Regions from separate parts of the Homo sapiens genome. Here region 2 is linked to region 1. The links are contacts of gene promoters, found by promoter capture Hi-C in blood cells and fetal thymus (Javierre and others, 2016). All regions are on one chromosome and are shown on one strand. Each heading gives the region's core, a stretch centred on a gene start or on the middle of the fragment in contact. The rest is flanking DNA. Distances are from core to core; before and after follow the strand shown.

Region 1 (5,907 bases), core at 2,076-4,575:
GATTCCAGAGAGAGTGAAAGCAATGGCAGCTGATCCGTGGCAGTGCGCAGGACCCAGTAAAAAGGTAGCCATGGTGTCTTTACTTGACCAGCTGGAGCACAGTTTCTGTTCCTGTCTGGGAGGCCTGCAAGCCTGGTTCTCCAGCCCACCCAGAAAGTCTGTGGTGGTACTTGATACTCATCCCTTTTCTGCTTAAATCAGCTAAGGTCAGTTTCTGTTGCTTGCGAGAAAAAACTATCATATTAACCCTCCATCTGTATTATCTGTTACAAATCTTTTTTCCAGTTGTCAGTAGTCTTTCAACCATACATATATATATATGTGTGTGTGTGTGTGTGTGTGTGTGTGTGTATAGTTGTATAGTTATATATATTATATATATAATATATAATAGCTTTCTCAGAGAGAAGTTTGAGATTCTCATGCAGCCGCATAGATCAACCATTTAGTTTCTGGTTTTCAGGTCAGGTTTATTTATTTATTTTTATTTATTTATTTATTTTGAGACAGAGTCTTGCTTTTTCGCCTAGGCTGGAGTGCAGTGGTACAATCACAGCTCACTGCCTCCTGGGTTGAAGTGATTCTCCTGCCTCAGCCTCCTGAGTAGGTGGGATTACAGACGACCACCACTACATCTGGCTAATTTTTGTATTTTTAATAGAGATGGGGTTTCACCACGTTGGTTGGCCAGGCTGGTCTCGACTTATGACCTCAAGTGATCCGCCCACCTTGGCCTTCCAAAGTACCCAGCCTCAGGTCATGTTTAAAAAGGCTTTCCTTAATCCAAGATTATAAATATATTTAATTAAGTTAAAAAACTTAAGTTGTTATTGGATTCAAATATTAATATTTAAATATTTTGTTTAAACGTATACAAAATTAAAAAATTCAAACACTACTACTAGGCTTAAAATTATATAAATAAAAAAGAGTTCTCTGCTCCATTTCTCTGATTCCCAAAACTCCCTCATTAGGGGCACCCACTTTCAGTTTTTGAGTAGATGTTTCATCTTTTTCTTTCTTTCTTCTTTTTTTTTTCGAGATGGAGTTTTGCTTTTGTTGCCCAGGATGGAGTGCAATGGTGCGATCTTGGCTCACTGCAACCTCCGCCTGCCGAGTTCAGGTGATTCTCCTGCCTCAGCCTCCTGAGTAGCTGGGACTACAGGCATACACCACCACGCCCGGCTAATTTTTGTATTTTTAGTAGAGATGGAATTTCACCATGTTGGTCAGACTGGTCTTGAATTCCCAACCTCAGGTGATCCACCTGCCCCGGCCTCCCAAAGTGCTGGGATAACAGGCGTGAGCCACTGCGCCCGGCCTCATCTTTTTCTTAAACCTTCATTTCTAAGTGAAATGGCTTCTACTCTTAATTCCTGATTTTCTTCACTTTCTGATCTCGGATTTGAGATCTCACTTGCTACCATGAAAAATGAGACTTTATTTTCTTACCATCCACACTTCTATTATCTGTCACTGCTCAGCCTCTTTTAAATCTATGGGCCCCCTCTGTCTTTTCTTTTCATTTCTTTTCTTTTCTTTTCAGATGGAGTCTTGCTCACTGCAACCTCTGCCTCCCGGGTTCAAGCGATTCTCCTGCCTCAGCCTCCGGAGCAGCTGGGATTACAGGTGCACACCACCACATCTGGCTAATTTTTGTATTTTTAGTACAGAAGGGGTTTCACCATGTTGGCCAGGCAGGTCTGGAACTCCTGACCTCAAGTGATCTGCCCACCTCAGCCTCCCAAAATGCTGGGATTACAGGCGCGAGCCACTGCACCCCGCCCGTTTTTTTCTTTTCTTTATAAAAGTTGAAATACACTAGCTGTATCTAGTTTCGGGATGTGCATGATAATTGGATACATTCCTATAATCAAATCAGGGTAATTGGGATGTCCATCATCTTAAATATTTATCTTTTCCTTGTGCCAGGAACATTAGGATTATTCTTTTCTAGCAATTTTGAAGTGTACAATCGATTAATGTCACCCTACTGATCTATTGAACACCAGATGTTATTTCGTCTATGTAAGTGTGTATTTGTACCCACTCATCAACCTTTCTTCATCCCCTCCTTTCCCCCTCCCCTTCCTGGCCTCTAGTAAGCAGGTTGCTGTTGCAAATTACGTATTGAAGAAACTGGCGCTTTGTCCTATGGTTGCCTGCAGTCTGGATTTTGCTGGTCACGTCCCCTTAGCTTTGTTGAGCAGGCTCCCCAGTCCCTGTATTTCTTGTAATTTGATAGTTGGCAAACTTTTTCCATAAAGAGCCAGCGAGTAAATATTTTGGGCTTTGTGGGCTATAACAGTCTCTGTGGCAATTCCTCAACTCTGCTGTCACAGCGAGGCCGCAGCCAGAGACAACATGTAAACAGCGGAGCAGGGCTCCGTTCCCACAGCGCGGGATCTGGGTCCCAGTTTGCACAGCCCTGAGTCGAGGGTGGATCCAATCCAGGTCTGATACAGCATTTCAATGGTGATGCCGCAGCCTTCCACACTGAGGCACTTAACACCCCATTGTTCCCAATTGCATTTTAACTGAAAAAATACAAAAAGAGATCAAAACTGAAAGTGCAGTTTCCTCATGGTCCCACCACATTTTGGAGAAGTGTATAAATGGAGAAGTGAAAGCTCCATCTTCTGCCCCTTCCCCATGAGAGAGCCTCTATTCACAGCCAGGTCAGTTTCTTCCAGACTGTTAACATCCGTGTGAGTGCACATGTCTACACTGCGTGGAGCCTGCCTGCTTCCTGCCCCGCAGGCGTGTCTGCTGTGGGAAGGCTGGAGTTCTGACCTTCCCCCTCCCCCTCTGGGTGACAGGTGGCTCAGTTCTCTTCCCTGCCACGTTCAAGACCAGGTTGGGGGAGGGGGTGAATGTCACTATTCCCCTGACTGCCACTGTGGAGAGGGGAGACCCTCGCCCCTTTTCTGAATTTTTCCTTACCCCTTTCCTTGGAATAAAGCAAACACCAGACCCAAATGGATTTTAAGTGACACTTTCCCAAGAGTCTGGAGAGGGGACAGAGACTGGACGTGGTGTGTCCTGCCTGAGCCGAGTCATCTGGTTACGAGGGCAGGGGCAGGCTGGGGTGGGGCTCATGCGCCCCGGAAGCACCCTGGCTCCTCGCTCTCCCATGCCTCTCCCTTTATGTCCTCTGCTGTCCAGCGCCTGGGCCCCGGCCCTCCCTGGGACACCATCCTGCCCTGCCCGAGTCGTGGCTCTCCAGTCTCTTTCGGGGACTCGCCCCTGGCACCCACTAGATGGCGCTCCCGGCCACTCAGCTCCCCCTGCCTCGCTTGGGGTGGTGCTGGACGTCGGGAGCGCTGGCCTCTGCTCTGCTGATTTGCAGGTGGGAGTGCAGGGTGAGCCCGGCGCAGGGGATAGGAGGTGGGGGAGTCGAGAGCTGGAGTCAGGCGCCGCTCACGCTGGGATGACGGAGTGTTAACCTCAGACTCTGGGTCCCTTTGGGCCGAAGCTTTAAGAAAACAGGGGCAGCGAGCCCGGCGTCCCAAGGAGCCTTGCCAAACTGGGCATGGAGAACGGGCCTCCTGGATGGCCACCCGCCCAGCTGCCAAAGAGGCCGGAGAGCTGGAGCCGGGACTTGGAGGATCTTCTTCAGAGAGGCAGGAGGGCGGTCCGAACGTGCCCCCACCCCTGACCTCAAGCCCATGTGGAGAGGGCCAACAGAGCCTCTTGGAGAGCTGGATTTGCGTCCTCTGCAGCTTGGGGGACACGTCGTTGATGGTGACTGACACGCCCCAGAGATAGTGACATGATGATTAAGAGTGACAGCCTGAGGGAGCTGAGCGCAGCATGGCTGGTCTGGCAGCTGCTGTCGGTGTCGCGACCCCACCCCACTTCCCCGGCTCCCTGCCTCCTTCGCTGGAGAAGCATCCTCAGCCAATGGAGCCACAATACCTGGTACGTTCAGGCGACGCCCACAGCCCACGGCTAACTGTACAAAAGACTGTTCCCTCGCCTGCCTCTAGATGGCGATACCTCTGCCCCAGGGCCCCCTGCATATCTGCCAGAGCTGTATTTACCCTGGGACCACGCCTTTACCGAGTCCTTTCTCCTTCCCCGCCCCTCTGCCCTCACATCCTGGGCGGCTTGTCCCAGGATGAGCCCTCCCCTAGTAAATCCCTGTCTTGGGCTCTGTTTTCAGACAGCTGAAGGCAGGGAACAGCAGGAGGGGCCCCAGGAAGCTGGCCCCAAGGACGGGATGCTGCAGGAGGATGCCCCGCTGGCCCCTGGTGACTGGAGCCCGTTGCGGAGGCCCCTGGCACGAGGTGGCAGAGCAGCTGCTCAGGCCTCCGCCTGTGGTCACCTGGGACAGGACTCAGGTGGACGGGGATGCCCGGCTCGTTTAATATCACTGATGTTGAGAGACAGATGGGAAAATAGCCGTGAGAAGGACGTGGAGTGGGGAGGCTGTCACTGAATACTACTGACACTTAGAAGAGGGAAAATGACAAGTTCAGGGCCACGCATCACCAATTTAAAGCAAAGTCAGGATTCCTTGGCAGAATTTAACGAAATGCTTCTCTTCTATAGCCAGGGGTCAGAGGGCAGAAGACAAGGTGCAGGACTCCAGAGAAGGCCAAATTTCCAGCCCAGGGAAGTCCCTTCTCCAAAGTCAGGGCCCCAAAGGGAAGGGTGGGGTCCCTGATATCTGAGATGGACTATCTGAGGAGACACTCTTGAGACATTGAACCCCCAGATTCTCCTGTACCTCCTGGCCTGCAGAAGTGACCCATTGCCTCTGTTGGAAGACAGAGGTCCTCTTTTGCTTAAAGACCATGCAGAAACTAAGGGAAGGGACCTTACAAGATAAGGAGTTCCTCTCTCCAGCATCTGTCCCCACCTCCCCTCCTGACCACCAGGCTCAAAGCTGGATCATATCTCAGCATGACCTGACCAAGGATGTGCTTTGCATGCCAGGGACCAAGAGGGATTAACAAGCAGAGGAGTGGTGGGAGCAAGCCAGCAGGGACCAGCCGGGTCTAGAGAATGTTCCTAGATGTGGACTCTGAAGGTTCTAGATCAAGGGAGGCTGCATAGTAGCTGGAGACTGGAGAGTTAATTAGTACAGAAAGACTCCCTAACCCCTAAAAAGGCCCTGGGAAGATTCTAATATGTTGCTTGGGAGGGTTCTTTTTTTTTGAGACAGAATTTCTCTCTGTCGCCCAGGCTGGAGTACAGTGGTGCGATCTTGGCTCTGCAACCTCCACTTCCCAGGTTCAAGCGATCCTCCTGTCTCAGCCTCCCGAGTACCTGGGATTACAGGCATGCACCACCATGCCCAGATAATGTATTGTTTTTTTTTTTTTTAGTGGAGATGGGATTTTGCCATGTTGGCCAGGCTGGTCTCGAACTCTTGACCTCAAGTGATCTGTCCACCTTGGCCTCCCAAAGTGCTGGGATTACAGGTGTGAGCCACAGTGCCCAGCACTTGAGGCAGTTCTTGAAAGCTTGGAAGAAGTGATAGTGCATAGGCGATGAAGTGGAGATGTCAGAACAGCCCTGGAGGAAGGTATGCAAAGTCTCAGAGAAGTGGACACGCCAGAATGGCTCTTCTATTGTAGGTTGTACAGGAAAACAGTGTGACAAGAGTGATGCCATCTTAAAACCGCCATATGATGATGAATGTTTCACCCCCATATACCAAGCTGCTCTGCAGTAAGCTCTTTAAACAATGCCTGTACCATACATAACCCTTTGTAAAGATGCTTAGCTAACCCCCTCCCCAAGTGGCTATGAGTTTTGCATTAAAATCGGAGATATGGCCACCTGCACATGTTTTACCCTAAAAGCTTGCTACATAAAAGTACTTTCTGCAGGGCAGATGTGGGGATCTACCATTTTGTGGCAGCCCGGAACATCGCTTCTGCTCCTAAGTCCCTATTA
Region 2 (5,957 bases), core at 1,953-4,452, 320 kb after region 1:
GGCTTTGTCCCGGGGTGACACTGCATGCCCCAGCCCAGCATGATCACACCTGGGCAGCACGATCTCATCTGTTTCCCTGCTTCCTCCGCCCCTCCTTGGTGTTGTGTATGCAGGTTTAATGAACCCTGAAGCACTTTTACAACCTGAACTCACTCGAGGTTATTTATGTCTAAGTTTCTAACTAGAAACCCGGCCTCCTTCCTTGGACCAATCCTGGGTTTCTCCAGAGCCCTTGGCTGAACCTCAGTAACAGAGCCCTGAGGCTGACCTTTCCCCACTGGCATTCCTCTTGCCAGGCCTTGCCAGGCCTTGAGGGACGGGGACAGTGCTGCTACAGCAGCAGAAATGAACGTGAGGAGAGGGGGTGGGGCAAGCACAGCCCTGTCACAATGTGATGGAGTAAATGGCTTGCTTTCCCACCCCAGGTGTCTTAAGACAGGTGGGCAGGCCTTTCTCTCTCTGATTCTGCCAGAGGCAAGTGCTTGCCACGGTTCAGAGGGCCAAGCCTTCCTGCTGTCTCTTCCATTTCAGGGCCTCTAGCACCTTGGAGACTGATGCCTTAGTCAGCCACTTCCTCTCCAAAACCTTAACAAAAGCTGACGGCAGGGAGCAGAAAGGGAGGGAGCACAGGAATGGAGCTGGCCTGGGGGAGAGAAGCGGAGGAGATAGCTAAGCTGTGGTTAAGTCATTTATTGATTTTATTTCTAAAACCCACATAGCGCCACTTTGCCGCTTCCAGAGCTTCAAAGAGCTAATTAACCACCCAATGAGCCCACCAGGGAAACCAAGCTTGTGGGAGAAGCAATGAGGTGAAGCCAAGGTCAAAGAGGGTAGCCAGGCCCCAGGCCCTGCCCCCATTCTGCCACTTAAGGACAAAGGCAAAAAAGATGTCCTCCTTTTGGTGAGCCGAAGTTTAGGGCTTGGCTGGGGAAACGCACTGAGCCTGCCTTGCTTCTGAGGGCTCCTCAAGCCTGGCAGACCCATAGCAAAGCACAGGCCTCCTGGACGGGGGACCAGACACCCCAGTAAACAGCAGTAGCCAGCCCTAGCTCACAGCTGGAAAGCAGCCCAGGCCAGTTGCTGGCCCCAGCAGCCAGATGCTGGGGGAGCCTACTGTCCCTCAGCCGCCCTGAAGGAAGGAGAGGCAGGTGGAACCAGGGCAGCTCTAAGGCACCTCTGCCCAGGAGAGGACCTCACTACCTGGTGGAGACTCCACATGGATTTTTCTGGAACCCTAACAGTAACTACCCACTCGCCGCCCAAGACATGGAAAAAAAGCAGAAGACCCTTTGAAAAGTGCTTGCAAAGCACAAGATGGGGCACTTTATCCTGTCCCCCCGACCCCCGCCAAAGCCTACAGCGCTGGCAGGCTGCAAGTCACCAGCAGAGAAGGAAAAAAGCCACTTGGCGGTTTTAATTTTAGCTGCTCTGTGCCTGACAGGCAGGATTAGTTGGCTTGACCTTTAGTGTTGATGCCTCCCCAGGCCCAGGGCCTTAGGTGGCAGCTTCCAGGCACAAATCACCACTGGAGCTCATCAAACGTGGACGTCTGAGCCCCAGGAAAAAGCCTTCAAAGGACAGAGACTAGAAAAATGAGCAGTGAACAAGGAGGGGCAAAATTGGTTCTCAGCGATGTTAACTAGTCACCAAAGGGGAGACTGTGGAGCCACCCACACACTGAGCTCCCACCACCAAAGCCACACACAGGAGGCAGGTGGTGGGCTTCCCTAATTAACCACCCACAGTCTCACCCCCCCGGACCTGGTGCTGAACGAAAGTTAAGGCACCTTTGGTGCTGCTGCTGCTGCTGGTGGTAGAGGAAGTTTATGTGAAAAGAAAAACCGGGCGGGGCAGGCATTAAAAAGAAAATAAAGAAGCAGACCCAGAAAACCACACTGCTCTTTTATTCAATGGAACATCCCCGCTTTAGCGCAGTGTTGAATCTAACACCGAAAAAAGCCCAGAGAAATTTCTGCAGATAAACCAGTGAAGAGAACGCGCAGTATACATTATTGTCAACAGAATCACTTCATGGAGAGGGAAGCGGGAGGAAAAAGGAAGGAGAATGAACAAGGGGCTCAAACCCCTACACACTGCAAAACATTCAGACATTTGGGATTAAAACAAAACATAAAAGGAAGCCTTCCAGGAAGGAGAGGACCAAATGGAATCTGAGGCAGCTCAGGTGATCAAGGAGCACAGGAAGAACTCCAGGCTGGCAGGCGAGCCCGAGGGAGCTCAGGCTGCCCACCCACTGCTGGCAGGATCGCCAGGACGGATGGGAATCCCGAAACCTGGAGATGAACCTACCCTCGGCAACTTTACAAGACTCCCTTGACAAGGGTGGCAGAGATTAAAAAACCCCACGCTTTAAACAAACATCTTTGGGGGTGGCTATGGCACCTTGAAAAACCCACAACCAGCTTGACATGAATGGCCAAAGCCCTTGCCCAAAACCATTTGCTCCCCTCTCCTTGGTAAGGGAAGGAGAACTGGAGAGAAGGGAAAGGAATCTAAATTGCAGCAGAAGACCGGGGAGAGCATCTCCTTGGACGGAGTCTGAAGAAAGGAAAAGATAAAGAAGTAACAAAGGAAAAAGAAAAAAATTAATAAAAATTTCACGATATGGAGCCAGCGTGTTCCGATTCCGTCCACAAAAATAACTCAGGCTGCTTTGCCGAACCATCCTGTCCACCAGGGGCGTTGCTGAGGCTGTCTGCCTGGAAGGGTCACCAATGGGCGCGGAAAGTCCTCACTCTCATGGCTCGGGCCATCGCCGCCGCGGGGAGGGATCCTGGCGGCCCGGTTTGGGGAGAGGCAAAGGGAGTTGGGTGAGGAGAGAAAGAAGACAAAGAAGACACTCGATGCTACGGGGCGCCAGGAGAGCCCAAGCTGGCGCCCCTACTACCACCTGCCCGTTCCCAAGCGAATCCTCAGTCGCTTGGCCCAGCCCAGTGCGTGCACACACACACATGCGTGCACACACAATCACATGCGTGCGTCCCAATGTCTGGCTCCATATGGTGAGGTTCGGCGTGTTTAAACGAGACCAATTCTCTCTATATATAATATATATTTTCTTAAAAAACAAGTCTAGTTCTGTGGTGGAGGCGGTGGGGGAGCTGGAGGCATCCCGAAGGGCGGCATGCCCGCCACCCCCATGCCCATCATGGTGACAAAGTTAGAAGGGTCCATGGGAGGCGGAGGAGGAGGGGGCGGGGCATACATCATGCCGGCGGAACCAGGCGGTGGAGGCGGCGGAGGGGGAGGGGCCCCAGGCGGCAGAGGCGGCTGGACCCCGGGGGGCAGGGGCACCATAGTGGGGTTGCCTTGCATCTGAGGGGCTCCTGGAGAAGCTGCGGCAGCCGCCTGCTGCTGTTGCCATGGCGGGATGGACCCTGTGCCAGCGCTCGTGGTGGTAGTCGTCGTATCTGGGGTGGTAAAGAAGCCCAAGGTCACACGCGCGGGGGCACACCGCGGCTGTCTGCGGCTGCTGCCTTGGGATGGGGGCGAGGGGCGCCTGCTCCTTGCTTGGCATGCGGTACGGTGGTGGGGGGCGGGTGGGCGGGGCTGGTGATGGGGAGTGGAGGGGTGGGCAGGACTACCCTGGGGTCAGCCTCGAGGTCTCTGGGCTTAACAGAGTAAGCCCTTTGTCACCAATGCCCCTGGAAGGGCTGAGGGGAAGGTACCAGACACAAGAACAGCTCTGATGTCCCTCCGCCCAGCCGCCGCCACCACCGAACGGCACATTCAACCTCAAGGCCACAGCTGCTGTCTCCCCACTGCCCAGTCCCACCTCTGCAGTCTCTCACCCCAATCGCAGCCCTTGCCAGAGCAAGCATGCACCATCCCACTCGACCCATATGCACCAGGCTCAGTCCAGCCAGCCGCTCACTCAGCCTGCGAGGGTCTGGACTTCTGGCCCCCTACCTACAATAGCAGGCTCCCCTCCAGGCCCCCACGAACCTCTCCCCAGACACAACCACACCAAACATCAGCTCTCCTCTTCAAGATGCCCCTCCACCCCCTGGACCAGGAGGCCCTTTCTGTTTACAACCCCAGCAGAGCCCAGGGGCTCATCCCAAGACACCTGCCTGCTTGTGTGAGGCTCTATGGTTCCTGTCAGCCCCACCCCCATCCCACCCACCCCCACAAGCCCAAAATATTCTACTCACTTTGCTGCCATGGCAAGGGGGTACTGGAAGCCATACTGCTGCTGGGCGGAGGGGGTGGCGGAGGCTGCTGCTGCTGTTGTTGCCATGGGGGAAGAGGACCAGAGGGAGGGGGTGGGGGCTGCCCACTGGGAGGCGGCGGCGGCGGCGGCATCATGCCCATAGGTGGTGGCGGCATCATACCTGTGGACAGGTGGAGGCAAAGATGAGGCCTCAGGGAAAGGCGGGGACTTGGGCCAGAACCCCCACTCACCCAAGCCTAGGTGAAGACCCACAGCCAGCAGACAGCCATTACCTTTTCCTTGATGCAGGCGATAGACCCCAGAGCCCACAGGCGTACTTCCCAGGTACTGATCTTGATGGAAGGAAAGAGCAGGGACTTAGCAGGACATTGGAACTGGCCAGGGAAGCCACCCCTGTGATAACCTCAGTTGCTATCCTTACGCGAGTTCTGAAAACCATGCCTGTAAAAGGCAGGTCTGTGCTTACCCAACACAGAATCACTCCCTGAACCAGAATGGAGTCTTGCTCCTTCCAGAGCCACAACCCTGGCAAGCCAGGCAGACCCAGCACATTGCCCAGCCACTTGAGAGCTGCTTCTAGCCAACAGCGACCTGACGTAACCCCTTGCTTATCCCAAAGCCCCCAAGGTTTCTGGTCTGACACTTACTTACCCATTGGAGGAGGGCCATGGTGCCCAGGAGGGTGGGGGCCCTGGTTCATCGGTGGTGGTGGTGGCTGCATCCAAGGGGGTGGGGGTCCATTGGGGTTGTGCTGCATGGGATGTCCACCATGCCCACCTGTCAGGCTGGGTAATGGGTGTGGGAAGCTGTGGGGGCCACCTCCGGGCCCACCAGGACCACCTCCATGCATGCCGTGGTAGGGCCGACTCTCTGAAGGGCCAGAATTCATCCAGGGTGGGCGGCTCTGGGTGGTAGACATGAGAGACTACGTGAGAGCATTTCCTGCCAACGTCCCTGCCTGCGCCTCCTAGTGGCAACATTGTTCTTCGGGTTATGACACAGGACCAGAACACAAGAACAAGGTCTTCCCGAAGTGAGAAGTCCCCAAACTGGCCTGAGATCCCGGAAGAACAATGTTGCCATCCACATCCATTGTCTGCTCTACCCAAACCACGTGGCCATAGCTCCCAGTCTCTGCAGTAGAGAATGGGGAAGCCAGACCAAGAGAGCCAGCCCCCAGGCTCACCGGTGGAGGTGGGTTGTTGGCGGGAGCAGCAGGACGAGGTGCGCTGGCCAGGGGTGTGGTGGCAGGCCCAGAGGTGGAGCCCACAGATGCTGGGACAGGTGCTTCACCCAGTTCAGCCATGAGGGACAAATATTCTTTATCCATCCGTGCTTTATCCTGAGCTGACTGAGGATCACCAGGCCTGAAGTGGGGTGGGGGACACAAACAGAGAAAGGGGAAAAACTTGTTAAGAAGGAAGCTTTTATCCTGAGGAACCAACATATGGAAAGTTCTGAAGAATTCAATCACCAGATCATCACACATCTTTCTAACCCCTTACTGGGCATGGCTCTCAACAGTCTCATCAGATCTTCAGTTTCGTGCCCAGTTCTGCATCTGGGATCACCAGAGTAGAGGGGCCCCTGGGCGAAGAGCACAGGAGACCCTGAGCACCGATGAAGCACAGGTTCTCTCAAGTCAATTTCATCAAACTTCATTCCCAGTTTGAGGAAAGGAAAATCTATGCAAGACTGGCACAACTGCCAGAACGAACTTCCTAAACAAAACCTTACATATTCGCCAGCCAGTCAGAAAGTG

Evidence for each region. The method cuts DNA at HindIII sites, captures the fragments that hold promoters and counts their contacts. A CHiCAGO score of 5 or more calls a contact.
Region 2: a contact is called between a fragment that was not itself captured here and the fragment with the promoter of LINC02724 in region 1, in 1 of 17 cell types (M1 macrophages). The highest score is 5.6, in M1 macrophages.

The regions. Positions count from the first base shown.
Region 1 is chr11:64,445,732-64,451,638 of GRCh38, forward strand. LINC02724 (long intergenic non-protein coding RNA 2724) reads left to right here and starts at 3,326. Exons shown (of 2, transcript NR_073177.1): 1 at 3,326-3,921; 2 at 4,166-5,907. RefSeq lists an enhancer at 3,665-3,914, a cis regulatory region at 3,804-4,073 and a silencer at 3,851-4,046. The HindIII fragment of the contact is 9,068 bases long and covers 1-3,473 here.
Region 2 is chr11:64,762,725-64,768,681 of GRCh38, forward strand. SF1 (splicing factor 1) reads right to left here. Exons shown (of 13, transcript NM_004630.4): 9 at 5,382-5,562; 10 at 4,847-5,120; 11 at 4,468-4,527; 12 at 4,176-4,355; 13 at 1,882-3,431. The coding sequence ends at 3,094. Among named protein-coding and RNA genes, the nearest start is that of PYGM, 5.7 kb to the left of the region's middle. RefSeq lists enhancers at 391-1,264, 494-543, 2,138-3,012, 3,013-3,885, 3,886-4,759 and 2 more. The HindIII fragment of the contact is 4,830 bases long and covers 788-5,617 here.